5 separate regions of the Homo sapiens genome follow, and all the other regions are linked to region 3. The links are contacts of gene promoters, found by promoter capture Hi-C in blood cells and fetal thymus (Javierre and others, 2016). All regions are on one chromosome and are shown on one strand. The core of a region is centred on a gene start or on the middle of the fragment in contact, and the rest is flanking DNA. Distances in the headings are between cores, read along the strand shown. Region 1 holds the start of IRF2BP1 (interferon regulatory factor 2 binding protein 1). Region 2 holds the start of FBXO46 (F-box protein 46). Region 3 holds the start of TRAPPC6A (trafficking protein particle complex subunit 6A). Region 4 holds the start of QPCTL (glutaminyl-peptide cyclotransferase like). Region 5 holds the start of MYPOP (Myb related transcription factor, partner of profilin).

Region 1 (2,700 bases), core at 148-2,647, 710 kb after region 3:
GGCTCGCGGAAGCTGCGGACGCCGTCGGTAAGCAGCTCGCCCAGCTGCCGCCATTCTCCTGATCCATGCCGGCGTTCATATTCGAGGTACTTGAAGCCCGAAGAAGCCAGTGCCTTGCCCGGCTCCCGCAGAGCATCGTGGAACATCTGGCGAGCCACTGCCAGGACGCCGGCGTACACATTGCCGGAACCACAGGGGTATTCGGTGAAGAGCTTCAGCTCGAACTCGTATCCTGGAGGACGGGCAGTAGCATCGAAGGCGAACACTCGCCCCACCAGCCCGTGATCCTTCTTGAAGCGCACATTGAACGGGGCGCAGGCGGACAGCGCCAGTAGCTGTTCCCGCACTGCTTTGGGGCGCCCGTGCCATTCCTCTGCCCGGCCTCGCATGGCCTCGTTCAGTTCTGCCAGACAGTCCGCATTCCTCTGCTGCTTCTCTTTCTCGAAATCGGAGCCGAAGAGGGGACGGGCAGGACTCAAGCCGGGTGCCAGCGTCAGGCCTCGGCTTCCCAGGCCAGACACTGCAGCTGCCAGCAGCCCAGGGGGCATCAAGCCAGGCATGGAGCCAAGCAAGGCCCTTCGCGCCCCCTCAGCCACGGCCTCCTCACGGCCCAGCCCATTGGCCAGGCGGGACCCCAGAGTGTACTCCAGGGCGGGCGAGGGCAGGGGGAGGCGGCCTGATGATGTGGCCCTGTCATAGCGGTCCTGGCCCGACACGCCGCCGCCGGTCCCTGACGGCTGGGGCTGGGCCTGCGGGGGCGGCAGCTGGGGCCCCTGTGCGGCTGCCGCCGCCAGGTCCTTGGTGGCCGGGTGCTTAAGGGCCGGGGGCCCGGGCGAGCGGCCCTCGGGGAGCACGTGGCTGCGCTTGAGCTGGCGGGCGGCATCGATGAGCAGTTCGATGCGGTCCGCGCCCTCGAAGTTCACGCAGCCGCGACACACGGCCTCGCTGAAGTCCCACACCATGGCCCACGGCATCTTGGGCAGGTCGCACAGGTAGCACCACTGGCGGCGGGACGCCTGCACAGACGCCATGGCCCCAGTCCGCGCGCCGCCCAGCTCCCGCGTTCCACCGGCCGCCGACGTGCGATCCGCGCCGCCAACGTTCGATCCGCGTCCCGGGGACAGCGCGAGCCACGGTCCGGCCTCCGGCTCGGCCTCCCCGCCGGATCCAGGCCCGGCCCCCCTTCCCCGCCCCCTGGGCCCTAAGCCTTTCTGCTCACTCCCGCCTCCCTCGCGAAGGCAGGCTGAGGCACGTCGGCGCCCCCGCCCGGTCCGGGCTCCGAGCCGAGGCGCACAGCTCGGGCCCCACGATGGGCCGCGAGCGCCGCCGCCTCGGGCTCCCGCCGCTCTCGCCGCCGCCGCTGCAACGGCCGCCGCCGCCTCCACCTCCTTCTTCTGCCCCAGAGGCCGCTTCGCAGGGAAAGTTACATAACACGCCTGCAAAGCCTTCTGGGAAACGTAGTCCCGCCGGGGCCGGCTCTTAAAGGGAACGGCGGGCAGACGCGGGCTGGGGGGGTTGTCGCCTCTGCCGGCGCAAACCTTACAACCTTCTCCGTGGGGCCGGAGTTCAGCGCGCCGCAAGATGCTGGGACACAAAGGTGGTAGGCGAGGATGCAATACAAATGATCAGAGCTACTCCGGATTCAGAAATTGTGGGGGTGGGTGGACAGGCTTCCGGGCTTCCAACTTCTGCTCGGATTTGCTGTGCAGCTTTAGGCAAAATGTCTTGCCCTCTCTGAACCTCAGTTTCCCCGCCCAGCAAAGGTGGGCCAATGACGGATTAGGAAAGTAGCAGCTTCTGGGGCGGGGCGGAGAAGCCCTGATTGGCTTCAGAGCAGGGACGGGAAGCTGGCAACTAGGTGGGGGTGGGGGTGGCCACCTGGCACTTCGTCCTCCCCCCGGAATCCTAGATATATGCTTCTGGGGCCCGCCACAGCCAGAGAAGGGAGAGGACTAAGGGCTTCCGAGCCAGAGCCTTGTCTCAGTTGTTTCTCTGCTAAAAGAGTGGGGCGACTGGCCGCCCTCTAACCCTGTCCCAGCTCTGCCCGCGCGCTCTGGTCTCTAAAGGGTTACACCATCGGGGGCTCGGCGTCCCCCACCCGCTTCACTACAATTCCCAAAATGCACTGCGGGTCGGACATAGTGACGCACTTCCGCCCTCTGGGAGGTTTGGGGAGGCCTTCCAGATTCACGCTACTTTCCCGGCTACCCCCCGCCCCCCCACTTTTCTGGGGGCTCTTTACGTGCATTCGGAGCGTGGCGTTTGGGGGACCCTTATCTTCTGTTGCTCCCCAGTTTGAGGGAAGAGTAAGGGGTTAAGAAGTGACGGGCAAGAGGAGGGAGTTGCTGGGGAAGGGCAAACACCAGACCAACCTTTCCCCAACCTTGAGCGCTCACTACCTGGAAGGCCCAATCAGGCTGTGAGGACCCTTCTTCTTTCCCAGGCATTGGGAACTGGACGAGGCTGTCTTTGGGGAAGGGCGGAGGCGGGTCTCCAGGTTCCAACCCACAACAGCCCCTTTCTCTAGGCCTGGGTCCGTGTTAGGTGCTCAAAAATATTTGAATGACGTACCAGTTGGCCCTGGTTTTGTCTAGTGAGGGGCTGCTTGTCCCTTCTCCTCCCGTCCCACTGGAACCGCAGCAGCTCTGATTCTGTTACCCAGACCTCACAATTTTAAAATGGTTTCACAATTTTGTCTAC
Region 2 (2,700 bases), core at 112-2,611, 550 kb after region 3:
TATTTCAGTATGGAGAGAGGACTAAATTATAGTGCTGAAAGCACAGATTCTGAGCCAGGCTGCCAAGATCGGAATCCTGAGTCTAGCAATTAATGCTGGATAGCCTTGGGAAAGTTGCTTAATTTCTCTGTACTTCTGCTTCCTTTCTGTAAAATGGAGAAAATAACAGCACCTACCCCTCAGGGGTGTTATCAGAATTAAATGAGTTAATGTGTACAAACAGCTAAGGACAGGGCCAGGCATTTTGTAAAACAATAAGCGTTAGCTGTAATCCACAGTGGGGAGCCCCTACATGCTTCTGAGCTGGGGTGTGTGCCCAGATCAGTGCCAGCTTTTGAGAAAACGCCTCTGGGACTGGACTGGAAAGGAGGAAATCCATTAGCACCTGTAACCCAGTCACATTCCGGGGGCGGAGAACTTCCCACCAACAGCTCTGAGACTGAAACTTCACAGCCCAGCTCTCCCACTAATAGTAACGATTTTAATGACTCCCTTTAACCCTGTTCTCAGAGGCATGCTTGCTGTTCCCATACTACAGATAAGGGCACTGAGGCTCACAGATTTGTCCATGGCACAAAGGGGTGGAAGAATAGGGGATATGAATGCTGTACTTCTCATAGGGATAAACCATTACACTCTTCTAAATTCCACCGGGGAAGTGAGGGTGCGAAAGCCTGTCTCGATGGCCCTTTCTGGCCGTATTATCCTACAGTTCTGTGCCTGTCCAGCTTACCGGGAGTCTCTGGCGGGACTAGGGAAATTATCACTACATCCAGGCCCCTAATTTCACGCTCCTTACCCCACCCTCAGTCCTGGAGCCTAAACCCACACTCTATCCTACCACTGATTTCTCCCTCCTACCTCCTCAACTTGCCTTCCTGCCCCCAATCCGATCCAGAGGCCCCAACCCATTGCGTCCACCGTTCGCCTGTCCCTTGGAGCTTCCAGACCCCCTCACTCATCCTAACCCTGATCCTCATACCCTCGCCGCAGGTTAAGCCCCCATCGAAATCGACCCCTTCAGGGCCTCTACCTGGATGTCCAGCCCAGTCTCCAACTCGGGGCCCACTTCCCCAGCTCTGAGCCCCTTTACAATCAATTCCAAAGCTCCACTCCCACCCCACCTCCAAGACCCCTCCCCAAGCCACCATTCTTCTACTACTACCTCCGGCTCCCATTCCTCCCAGTCCTCTCCCCCAGGCAATCTCCCCTCACCCAGCCCCTTCTTTCGCCCCTGCCTCTTCCCCCTCGTCACCCGGTCCCGAACCCCCGTCCCGACTCTCCAGCGCCCCCGGCCCGCGCCTGGGCTCTCACCATCGCCGCGCGCTGCATCTCCCTCGGCTACGCGGGTTTCCCCCACTCGCTCCTCTCCAGCCTCCCCTTCCGGGTTCTCGTCCCGAAGCCCGCTGGGAATTGAAGTCCGGGCAGCCACGGACTACATCCCCCAGAAGGCAGCACGGTCAAGCTTGGAGGTGGGGTAGGAAGCAAATTAGGCGGGCGGAGGAAAAGAACGACTCGAACTCCCGGGAGACAAAGCCGGGGAGGACTTGGCAGCGCAAGCGCAGGGTGCTTCCCCGCTGGGCGCGCTGGGAGATGGAGTCTAGCCAGGAGGGCTCCATTTTTGCCCGAGGCCCTTGGGAAGGGAATTGAGAATATTGCAATAGGGTGTTGGTGAGGGGTGGAGAGTTGGGGAAGAGCAAATTTATTGATTCATTTGTGCCGATCAACACAATAGCTAACAGCTCCTTGTGCTTTTCCAAACTCCTTCCCATCCATCCCCTTCTTTTTTTTTTTTTTTTTGAGACGGAGTCTTGCTCTGTCACCCAGGCTGGAGTGCAGTGGCGCAATTTCGGCTCACTGCAACCTCCGCCTCCTGGGTTCAAGCGATTCTCCTGCCTGAGCCTCCTGAGTAGCTGGGATTACAGGAGCCCGCCACCACGCCCGGCTAGTTTTTGTATTTTTAGTAAAAACGGAGTTTCACCATGTTGGTCAGGCTGGTCTTGAACTCCTGACCTCATGATCCACCCGCCTCGGCCTCCCAAAGTGCTGGGATTACAGGCGTGAGCCACCGCGCCCGGCCCGTCCCCTCCTTTCTTACCTCCTGATTTACAAATGAGAAAATTAAGCCTTAGGAGGAAGGAAAGTCCCATACATTAGGAGTTAGTCCACATCATAGAATAGCAGCTCCACATCGCTCGAGCCCAGGAGTTCGAGGCAGTGAGCTAGTGTTACACCACCGCCCTCCATGCAGTTCAGCCTGGGCGACAGAATGAGACCCTGCTGCCTCTTAAAATAAAAGAAGGCCGGGCGCGGTGGCTCACGCCTGTAGTCACAGCACTTTGGGAGGCCGAGGCGGGCTGATCACAAGGTCAGGAGATCAAGACCATCCTGGCTAACACACTGAAACCCCATCTCTACTAAAAATACAAAAAATTAGCCGGGCTGGGTGGCGGGTGCCTGTAGTCCCAGCTACTCGGGAGGCTAAGGCAAGAGAATGGCGTGAACCCAGGAGGCGGAGCTTGCAGTGAGCCGAGATCGCGCCACTGCACTCCAGCCTGGGGGACAGAGCGAGATTCCGTCTCAAAAAAAAAAAAAAGAAGAAGAAGAAGAAGAAGCTCCAGGAGGGCAGAGATCTTTGTGTACCTTGTTCAAGCACCTAGAACAGCGTAAACATGTGTTCAGTAAATATTTATTGCATCG
Region 3 (2,779 bases), core at 139-2,638:
TGGTGAAACCCCGTATCTACTAAAAAAAAAAAAAAATTGGCCGGGTGCAGTGGCTCACGCCTGTAATCCTAGCACTTTGGGAGGCCAAGATGGGCAGATCACGAGGTCAGAAGATGGAGACCATCCTGGCTAACAGTGAAAACCCGTCTCTACTAAAAAAAATAATAATAATACAAAAAATTAGCCAGGTGTGGTGGCGCCAGCAGCGCTTGTGGTCCCAGCTACTTGGGAGGCTGAGAAGTGGGATGATCGCTTGAGCCCAGGAGGTCGAGGCAGCAGTGAGCCATGACTGCATCACTGCACTCCAGCCAGCCTGGGCGACCGAGCAGGATGCGCGTGCGCGCACACACACACACACACACACACACACAGTCCCGGGCCAGTCACGGTAGTTCACGCCTGTAATCCTAGCACTTTGGGAGGCCCAGGCGGGAGAATCACTTGAGCCTAGGGGTTCAAGACCAGCCTAGGCAACATGGCAAAACCCCATTATCTCTTTTTTTTTTTTCCTGAGACAAGTCTCGCTCTGTCGCCTAGGCTGGAGTGCAATGGCACAATCTTGGCTCACTGCAACCTCCGCCTCCCAGGTTCAAGCCATTCTCCTGTCTCAGCCTCCCGAGTAGCTGGGATTACAGGTACCCGCCATCATGCTCGGCTAATTTTTGTAGACACGGGGTTTCACCATGGCCAGGCTGGTCTTGAACTCCTGACCTCAGGTGATCCGACGGCCTCGGCCTCCCAAAGTGCTGGGAGCTACAGCGCCCAGCCGGCATATTTCATTTTATTATTTGACTCCCCTAGTGAAATGTAAGCTTCACAAGGAAGGGATTCTGTCTTAGAACGGTGCCTGGAATACAACAGACGCTCAATAAGTGGGTGTCGAATAAATAAATGTCCCACGCTGAGGCTTAGGTACGTTATGATACTCATTTTACAAAAGAGAAAACTAGGACACACAAAGATTAAGTCATTGGGTCGCACACCTAGTAAGTGGGGGAGGCGAGTCCTCAGCACACGCCCAATAACAGCATTATTATGATTACTAGCCGCTTACTCAGGCCTTGAGCTAAGTGCTTTACCCTGAATCATCGCGCTCAATTTAGCAATAACCCCGAGCCGGCACCGTCGCGAACGCCACTTTCCAAAGGAGGAAGCCAGGGCCAGACGTTGCCCTGCAAGGCCGGGGCTGGGCCGGGTTCGAACCCGGACGCCTGACGCGCCCTCCGCTCTCCCAGAGGCGTTACCTTGGTGGCCCCCGCTTCCTCCCCACGGAGCCCGGCGCTCACCCCCGGGCCGGGGTCGGGGTCGTGAGCCCACAGCTCAGCCACCATCTCCGTGTGAAGAAACTCAAACAACACAGTATCCGCCATGCCCCCTCCTCGCACGCCTAAAGATGCGCCCAGCGCTTCCAGCTCTCATTGGCCAGGCTTGGTAAGCCACGCCTCTTGCGTCATGGCGCGAGCCCTCCTACTCCGGCTTCCATTGGTGTTTTAGACTAGCCCCGCCTCCCCGCCCCGGACTCAGGTGGTGTGCGCGTGAGCCTGGGACACTAGGGGGCGGGCCTACGCCTTCTCTGGCCACATGTGGCAACATCTTCTGCTCTTACTGCCGTCCCTTCCCTATTTCCGGGTTCTCGAGCATTCCTATTGGCCAAATTACTGGTTACACGTGACATACTCGGCTTTTAAAATCCCTATTGGTCCACTCCAGACTTTCCTCGTCGCACAACCTGGAAGAGCCGGCCCAGCTGTTTCTCTATTGGCGGTTCCTCCATTCATGTGACTCTTCTGCACGCTCACTCAAAGCTGATGCTGAGAACTTGCTTCCTGATTGGTAGCCGGGCGAATCCACGTGACTTGGCCGCTAATGCCCGCCCAACCCGCTCCCCTATTGGTTGAAATCACAGCCCTTCAGCTGCCACGGTGAGAACGCAGCACTCGGGTTAGGAAGCGGATCTCGCAAGCTCCGAGCGTCAGCTGCCGGGTACGGTCTTTGGCGTTAGCGCTTCTCCCATCCCATGAGTGCCCCCAGCAGAGTCCAGTCGGACTGTCATCCTTTCTGCGACTCTGGCGCTGGTCCCGAGCAGCTCACGGGCCCGTGTGCTTCCGGGTCTGAGATTGGCATGGTGGACCAGGTGGAGGGTGTGGCCTCTACTAGGAGGCAAATTCGTAAAGACCTCGGCTTGGGACTCCGGGAACTCGGGCCCCAGATCCTTGTTCGAGCTGGTCTTCAGTTTCCCCATCTGTACGCTGAAGAGCCTGGGGTCCAGTAACCCCCATCATCACCCAGTTTACAGAAGAGGAAACTGAGGCCCAGACGGGGAGCAGCTGACACCAAGTCGTTAAGAGAATCAGCGAAGGGGCTGGGAATCCAGGACCTGCGCCTTTTACCCACCGCGGCGCCGGTCTCACGTGCAGTCCCTTCGCTCTTCTCCCCTAGTTCGGTGCCATGGCGTCCCAGGGTCGTCGGCGGAGGCCCCTGCGGAGGCCGGAGACGGTGGTGCCGGGGGAGGCGACCGAGACGGATTCCGAGCGCTCTGCGTCCTCGTCGGAGGAGGAGGAGCTGTACCTGGGTCCTTCGGGCCCGACGCGCGGCCGCCCCACGGGGCTGCGGGTGGCTGGGGAAGCCGCGGAGACCGACTCGGAGCCGGAGCCGGAGCCGGAACCGACGGCCGCGCCGAGGGACCTGCCTCCACTCGTGGTGCAGCGGGAATCGGCGGAGGAGGCCTGGGGCACGGAGGAGGCCCCGGCGCCCGCCCCCGCGCGCTCGCTCCTGCAAC
Region 4 (2,700 bases), core at 1-2,500, 510 kb after region 3:
GCCACCGCGCTCGGCCTCCCCCAGTATTCGTAAAATCGCTGCCCCTTAACATTCATTTCAATAGGACTAATTATCTAGGACCACTCCCGTTATCGTTTAAAACATGTTTTTCATAATTAAATTTTTTTTTTTTTTTGTAGAGACGGGGGTCTCGCTATGTTGCCTAGGCTAGTCTCGAACTCCTGTGTTCCAGCGATGCTCCGCCTTGGCCTACTAAAGTGCTGGGATCACAGGAATGAGCCCCCGCGCCCAGCCCAGGGCGTTATCTGATAAAGCTGTCCCCTCTCCCGAAGTCACGATGCGTCAAAGGCCCCACGCCCGTTCTCAAACTCATCAGGAGAAAAGCAGGACGCTGCATCCCTAAAACATCTGCCCCTGCCCCCCCCGCTCTGCTCAACCCTTCCCACACTCAATCGGTCAAATATCCACCCTCAACCTCATTCCCGCCGCCTAAGCCTAGCCCGGCCTCACATGATGGTCACTACGCTCTCCGTTCACTCCCGTTTCCTCCGCGTTGCTGCTGCCTGAGGAGAGAGAGGCGGGACTTCCTCTTCCTGCGACCCACTTCCGTTGGCGCCTGCGCAAAGCCAACCAGTAAGTGGAGGCGTGGCCTGTTGCCACAGCATTCCCCACCAACGGTGCACAATGATGGAATAAAAGCTTCGGGTAGGGGTTCGCGGCCAGTCAGAACCACACGGGGGCAGATGTTTATGACAATGAAGACAAAAGGAAAGGCAGTCTGATTCAAACCGTTTCTTGAAGAATGGTACAGGTTGAAGGAGGGAAATGACAAGCTATTTCCAAATGCCCGCCGGCCGTGACTTCGGGGGCGCGGCCTCCGTGAAGCCAATCCGCTCCTCGCTTCGGAGACAGGCACCGCCCCTCTTCCCTCTGGGACGCGTTACTGACGTATCTACTGATCTTTCCGACCCTGCGCCACCAATCCCCTGCCTACATCCGGAAGGGGCATGGACCTGCGCCCGGGAGATCGAATATTTTCCATGATCAAACGCTGTTCATTGGCTTTCCCTCCTCCGCTAAGGCGGAGCCTACTTCTCTTGCGCTCCCATTTGGGTCGTGCCATTCTCAGGGGAACCAACCCCAATACCTAAGGGAGGCTGGGAGGCGTGTCCTCAGGACCGTAGTTCTTATTGGTTTCGCTGCTCGCTGTGGGGTGGGCTGGTGCAGCCGCAGCTGTTGCTTATTGGCCCACCGATTCCATGGGGAGGAACTTGGCTGGGCCTAAACTCAATCCGTGGTCTGGTACAGGTTTCAGGGCAAAGCGGCCATGCGTTCCGGGGGCCGCGGGCGACCCCGCCTGCGGCTGGGGGAACGTGGCCTCATGGAGCCACTCTTGCCGCCGAAGCGCCGCCTGCTACCGCGGGTTCGGCTCTTGCCTCTGTTGCTGGCGCTGGCCGTGGGCTCGGCGTTCTACACCATTTGGAGCGGCTGGCACCGCAGGACTGAGGAGCTGCCGCTGGGCCGGGAGCTGCGGGTGAGGCTGGGCGGGGACCCGGGCACCGCGGGGACCCTCATTCCCTCCCCGCTGTTACCCAGGGTTGACGTGGCTTTAGCGTACGGCCCTAACCGCAGATGCCACCGTCTTCGTCATCTGAGCGCATGACCCTTACCAAAGGAATAAGGCTTCGGGCTGGTTCTGCAACAGTAGCTTCCTTTTAAGAGGAAAGGTCTGAAATAGTAAGACGGGGGGGTTCAGGGTTCTACGCCTTTAGTCAACTATTTGGAAGAGTCCCTTCCTCCATCTCCCCTCTCTCTCACTGGGCCTCGATTTCCCCATCAAGTTTGAGGTAGGCTGGACCGGATGGTCTTGGAAGGACTTTTCCTGAGCCTTGGATTTATCCTAGAAGTCTCCGATGCTGGAGGCGGCAGATTAGGAAGAGAACCCGGGGCTCCTCGCGGGTGACGGCGCCCGGGGTAGGGTTGAAATGGGGGGGTTGCTCTCATTCTTCCCTTCCCTATCCCACCTCCTTCCCAAGGTCCCATTGATCGGAAGCCTCCCCGAAGCCCGGCTGCGGAGGGTGGTGGGACAACTGGATCCACAGCGTCTCTGGAGCACTTATCTGCGCCCCCTGCTGGTTGTGCGAACCCCGGGCAGCCCGGGAAATCTCCAAGTCAGAAAGGTAAAGGGACCCACCTCCAGTCCCTGACCCCCTAGCCCTCCAGGGAATGGGAAATAAGAATCCTGTTCAAGATCCCAAAGAAGCTAAGAGGAGGAACTGGGGCTCTGACTGGAGTTAATCGGACTCTAGACTCCATGCTGGTAACAAACCACCAGGCTGTACTGCCCCCCTTAATGCCCCCACCAAAAGCTTACTGTGTGCTAGGCATAGGCAACAGACAGCCCTATAAGGTGGGTACCAATATGATCTTCATTATGCAGATGGGGAAACTGAGGCTCAGAGAGGTTATACACATTGCACAAATCCTACAGATAATAAGTAGTAGACCTTAGCCGGGTGCAGTGGCTCATGCCTGTAATCCCAGCACTTTGGGAAGCCAAGGTGGAAGAATCACCTGAGAAGTTTGAGACTAGCCTAGTCAACCTAGTGAGACCCAATGTTTAGAAAATCATAGACCTAGAGTTGAACCCAAACAGGTTGGCTCCGAGCTGGTGCTGTAATGTATCTGTTGTCTTCCAGAAAGCATGAAGAGTCATTTAAAGGCCAGGCGCAGTGGTTC
Region 5 (2,700 bases), core at 130-2,629, 720 kb after region 3:
TGCAACAGCGCAGGCACACAGCCTACTCTGAAGACACTCACCTGCACGTCGGTCCTCCCGGCGGTCTTCCGACAACACGTAGCGCTGAGGGCAGGCGCTTGGGGGCGGCGGCTGTGAAGAGGGGGCCGCAGGGGGCTCCTCCGCCCCAGCACCTGCCCCCGGCGCCGCCACACCTGGCCCCAGGATGGCAAAAATGGTCTCCTCTTCCGCGGAGAAAGCGTCCTCCGCGGCGGGCCCGGCGCCCTGCGTGGAGTGCGGCACGCGAGCGAGCTTCTCCTTGGTGCGGCGCTTGAAGTCGTTCCAGCGCTTCTGCACCTCCTGGCCCGTGCGCTTCCAGCTGGTGATACCGTTGATCTTGGCGGCGATGCCGTCCCACACGCGCCGCCGCTCTGCCACGCTCACCCGACGGCTCTGCGCGCCGTAGAGCTGCGGGTAGTGGGCGCGCACCTCGCGGATCAGGATCTGGTTCTCTTCGAATGAGAAGCGCGGCTTGCGCAACCGGGTGGTTTCCTCCGCTTCGCCCGCCGCCGCCGAGGCCATGGCGCCCCCCGACGCCGCCGTCCTGCCGTCTGGCGCATGGGGGGCGCCGGCGCTGCGGGCAAAGGGCGCACGGGGCTGGCTGGGGTTCGGGGTCCCCCCGCCGCCGCCTCTCCCAGACCGCCGGGCCGAGAGCTCCTTAGTCCCCGGGGGCAGGAGTGGGGGCGGGGGGCGGGCGGGGGCGACGGGCACCCGGGTAAGTCGGAAGCGCCTAAGAGTAGCTGACACCGGCTGAGCGCTTGGCTCGGACTTCGCGCGGCGCGAAGTGCCACGCTGAAGAGTTGATAGAAATTGGGGGAGGGTCTGGAGGGATGGAAGGAAAGGAGGAAAAGTGCGAGGAGAGGAGGTGTCTGCAGGAGTTAGAGAATGGGGGCACGGGAGGATAGGAAATGGAGGGAGGATGGGGGTGCCTCGGGGGGGTCTTAGATGCATGAAGATAAGGAGATGCGGAAGGGGGGATGCAGCAAGAAGGGGGGAATCTGGAGCAGAGGAGGCGCTCTAGGGGCTCTAGGGGGCAACGGGGCGTCTGTAAGACCGATATGAGAAGGGCCCTTAGAGGGATGTCCAGGAATAATGGTGAGGTGGGAGCTCCTGTATCACTGGAAGAGCTGGAACGATCAAATATTAGGGATCAGGGTCTGCGAGGATTGTGGGGGCTCTGGGGATTGCCAGAAATTAAGGGGAGCTCTGGAAATAACGGGGGTCCCGTATCACAAGGAGACAACGGAGGCTACGGGGGACGGCAGGGAGAGCGAAGGTCGCGGAGGGTGGGGACCGAGTCGGGCCACGGGTCACTCACCGGCTCCGCCGCAGCCGCCGGTGGGTCAGGGCTCGGGCTTCTGCGGCCTGTTCCCACCCCCCGCCTCCCTCCCTCCCCTCTTTCGGCCCCGCCTCCGGCCGCCCCGCATGCCAAGGCGCAGGCGCGCCCAGGGCCAGTCGGCCCCAATGCCCTTACCGCCAGGGTTTCATTCCCACCTACCCCAGCACAGCGCAGGCGCAGAACTGCGCTCCGCCGAGCCCCACCAGCAGGCCGCAACTGCGCAGCCGCAACGTTAGCGCCGCGCGGGTACCCCAGCTTCCTGGGGCCACAACGGCGCACGCGCAAAAACTCCATCGCGCGCATGCGCGTGCCTCGGGTTGTACCCGGTACCGGGTCTCGGCGCAGGCGTTGCGAGCTTGGATGGGAGAGATGCTGGGAGCGCGCCAGTACCCAACCTTTCGGACAGTCTTCCAGCCCACCCTGCCCTCTAACCAAAGGGGAGGGAGACAGCGCTGAAGGGAAGCGCTTTGTCTCCTTGACAACTGTGTGGGTGGGGTGGAGGCGTGAGGAAACCGCTTTGCCTCCTGGCTTGCCCGCCCCTGCGCTGGGCCGCTCCAGAGCTTCCCACCTCGCACCCCTAGAGGCTGGGCGTCCTGGGGATGTCCCGCCCCGGGCGGATGCAGTAACCATAGCGACCCACAAGCCTTCCAGTCACGCCTTGGGGGCCCCTCTGTGCGCACCTTTACCTCGAGGAGCGGGGAAAATAAGAGGGAAGAGCTTCCTGGCTGGTAGGAAGGGAGATCCTGACGCCGGCACGACTTTAAGCAAGTGCATGGAGACAGGAATGAAGCCAGAACGCAGGTGGGGTGAGCCGCATGGCAGGATGATGGAGCTCAGTCCGGCTGAGAAGTGTGTTCGTTAGCATCCTGCAGGAGTCCTCAAGGTCATTCGACAATTGGTGCTTCATTCATCGACTCAATAAATATACATGAGCACTTACACAGTTCCTGGTACAATGAACATAAAAGCTAAAATCCGTAGCCTGGGCCGGGCGCGGTGGAGCTCACGCCTGTAATCCCAGCACTTTGGGAAGCCAAGGCGGGCGGATTACCTGAGGTCAGGGGTTCGAGACAAGCCTGGCCAACACAGTGAAACCCCATCTCTACTGAAAATACAAAAACTAGCTGGGCATGGTGGTGCATGCCTGTAATCCCAGCTACTCGGGAGGCTGAGGCACGAGAATCGCTTAACCCCGGGAGGCAGAGGTTGCAGTGAGCTGAGATTGCACCACTGCACTCCACCTGGACGACAGAGTGAGACTCCGTCTCAAAAAAAAAAAAAAAAAAAATACATGCCTGTAGTCCCAGCTACTTGGGAGGCTGAGGCGGGAGGATCGCTTGAGC

What was found. The method cuts DNA at HindIII sites, captures the fragments that hold promoters and counts their contacts. A CHiCAGO score of 5 or more calls a contact.
Region 1: a contact is called between the fragment with the promoter of IRF2BP1 here and the fragment with the promoter of TRAPPC6A in region 3, in 1 of 17 cell types (naive CD4 T cells). The highest score is 7.0, in naive CD4 T cells.
Region 2: the fragment with the promoter of FBXO46 here is called in contact with the fragment with the promoter of TRAPPC6A in region 3 in 1 of 17 cell types (non-activated CD4 T cells); the score reaches 6.1 in non-activated CD4 T cells.
Region 4: a contact is called between the fragment with the promoter of QPCTL here and the fragment with the promoter of TRAPPC6A in region 3, in 1 of 17 cell types (monocytes). The highest score is 5.9, in monocytes.
Region 5: the fragment with the promoter of MYPOP here is called in contact with the fragment with the promoter of TRAPPC6A in region 3 in 1 of 17 cell types (naive CD8 T cells); the score reaches 5.6 in naive CD8 T cells.

The regions. Positions count from the first base shown.
Region 1 is chr19:45,884,744-45,887,443 of GRCh38, forward strand. It overlaps IRF2BP1 (interferon regulatory factor 2 binding protein 1), which reads right to left and starts at 1,398. Exons shown (of 1, transcript NM_015649.3): 1 at 1-1,398. The coding sequence starts at 1,031. RefSeq lists silencers at 653-892, 933-1,412 and enhancers at 1,573-1,722, 1,873-2,112, 2,173-2,222. The HindIII fragment of the contact is 4,343 bases long and covers 1-2,700 here.
Region 2 is chr19:45,729,535-45,732,234 of GRCh38, forward strand. FBXO46 (F-box protein 46) reads right to left here and starts at 1,362. Exons shown (of 2, transcript NM_001080469.2): 1 at 1,315-1,362. RefSeq lists a silencer at 217-511 and enhancers at 1,360-1,469, 1,560-1,689. The HindIII fragment of the contact is 3,315 bases long and covers 1-1,463 here.
Region 3 is chr19:45,176,849-45,179,627 of GRCh38, forward strand. It overlaps TRAPPC6A (trafficking protein particle complex subunit 6A), which reads right to left and starts at 1,389. Exons shown (of 6, transcript NM_001270891.2): 1 at 1,287-1,389. The coding sequence starts at 1,370. It overlaps BLOC1S3 (biogenesis of lysosomal organelles complex 1 subunit 3), which reads left to right and starts at 1,936. Exons shown (of 2, transcript NM_212550.5): 1 at 1,936-1,983; 2 at 2,440-2,779. The coding sequence starts at 2,449. RefSeq lists enhancers at 767-1,710, 1,723-1,792, 1,863-2,182, 2,723-2,779 and silencers at 1,143-1,362, 2,533-2,779. The HindIII fragment of the contact is 3,392 bases long and covers 811-2,779 here.
Region 4 is chr19:45,691,416-45,694,115 of GRCh38, forward strand. QPCTL (glutaminyl-peptide cyclotransferase like) reads left to right here and starts at 1,251. Exons shown (of 7, transcript NM_017659.4): 1 at 1,251-1,495; 2 at 1,998-2,141. The coding sequence starts at 1,289. It overlaps SNRPD2 (small nuclear ribonucleoprotein D2 polypeptide), which reads right to left and starts at 538. Exons shown (of 3, transcript NM_001384647.1): 1 at 472-538. The coding sequence starts at 473. RefSeq lists enhancers at 74-794, 613-742, 753-882, 1,408-1,958. The HindIII fragment of the contact is 1,670 bases long and covers 659-2,328 here.
Region 5 is chr19:45,901,234-45,903,933 of GRCh38, forward strand. MYPOP (Myb related transcription factor, partner of profilin) reads right to left here and starts at 1,380. Exons shown (of 3, transcript NM_001012643.4): 1 at 1,337-1,380; 2 at 42-592. The coding sequence starts at 540. RefSeq lists enhancers at 1,143-1,192, 1,623-1,732 and silencers at 1,383-1,432, 1,993-2,072. The HindIII fragment of the contact is 7,646 bases long and covers 1-2,700 here.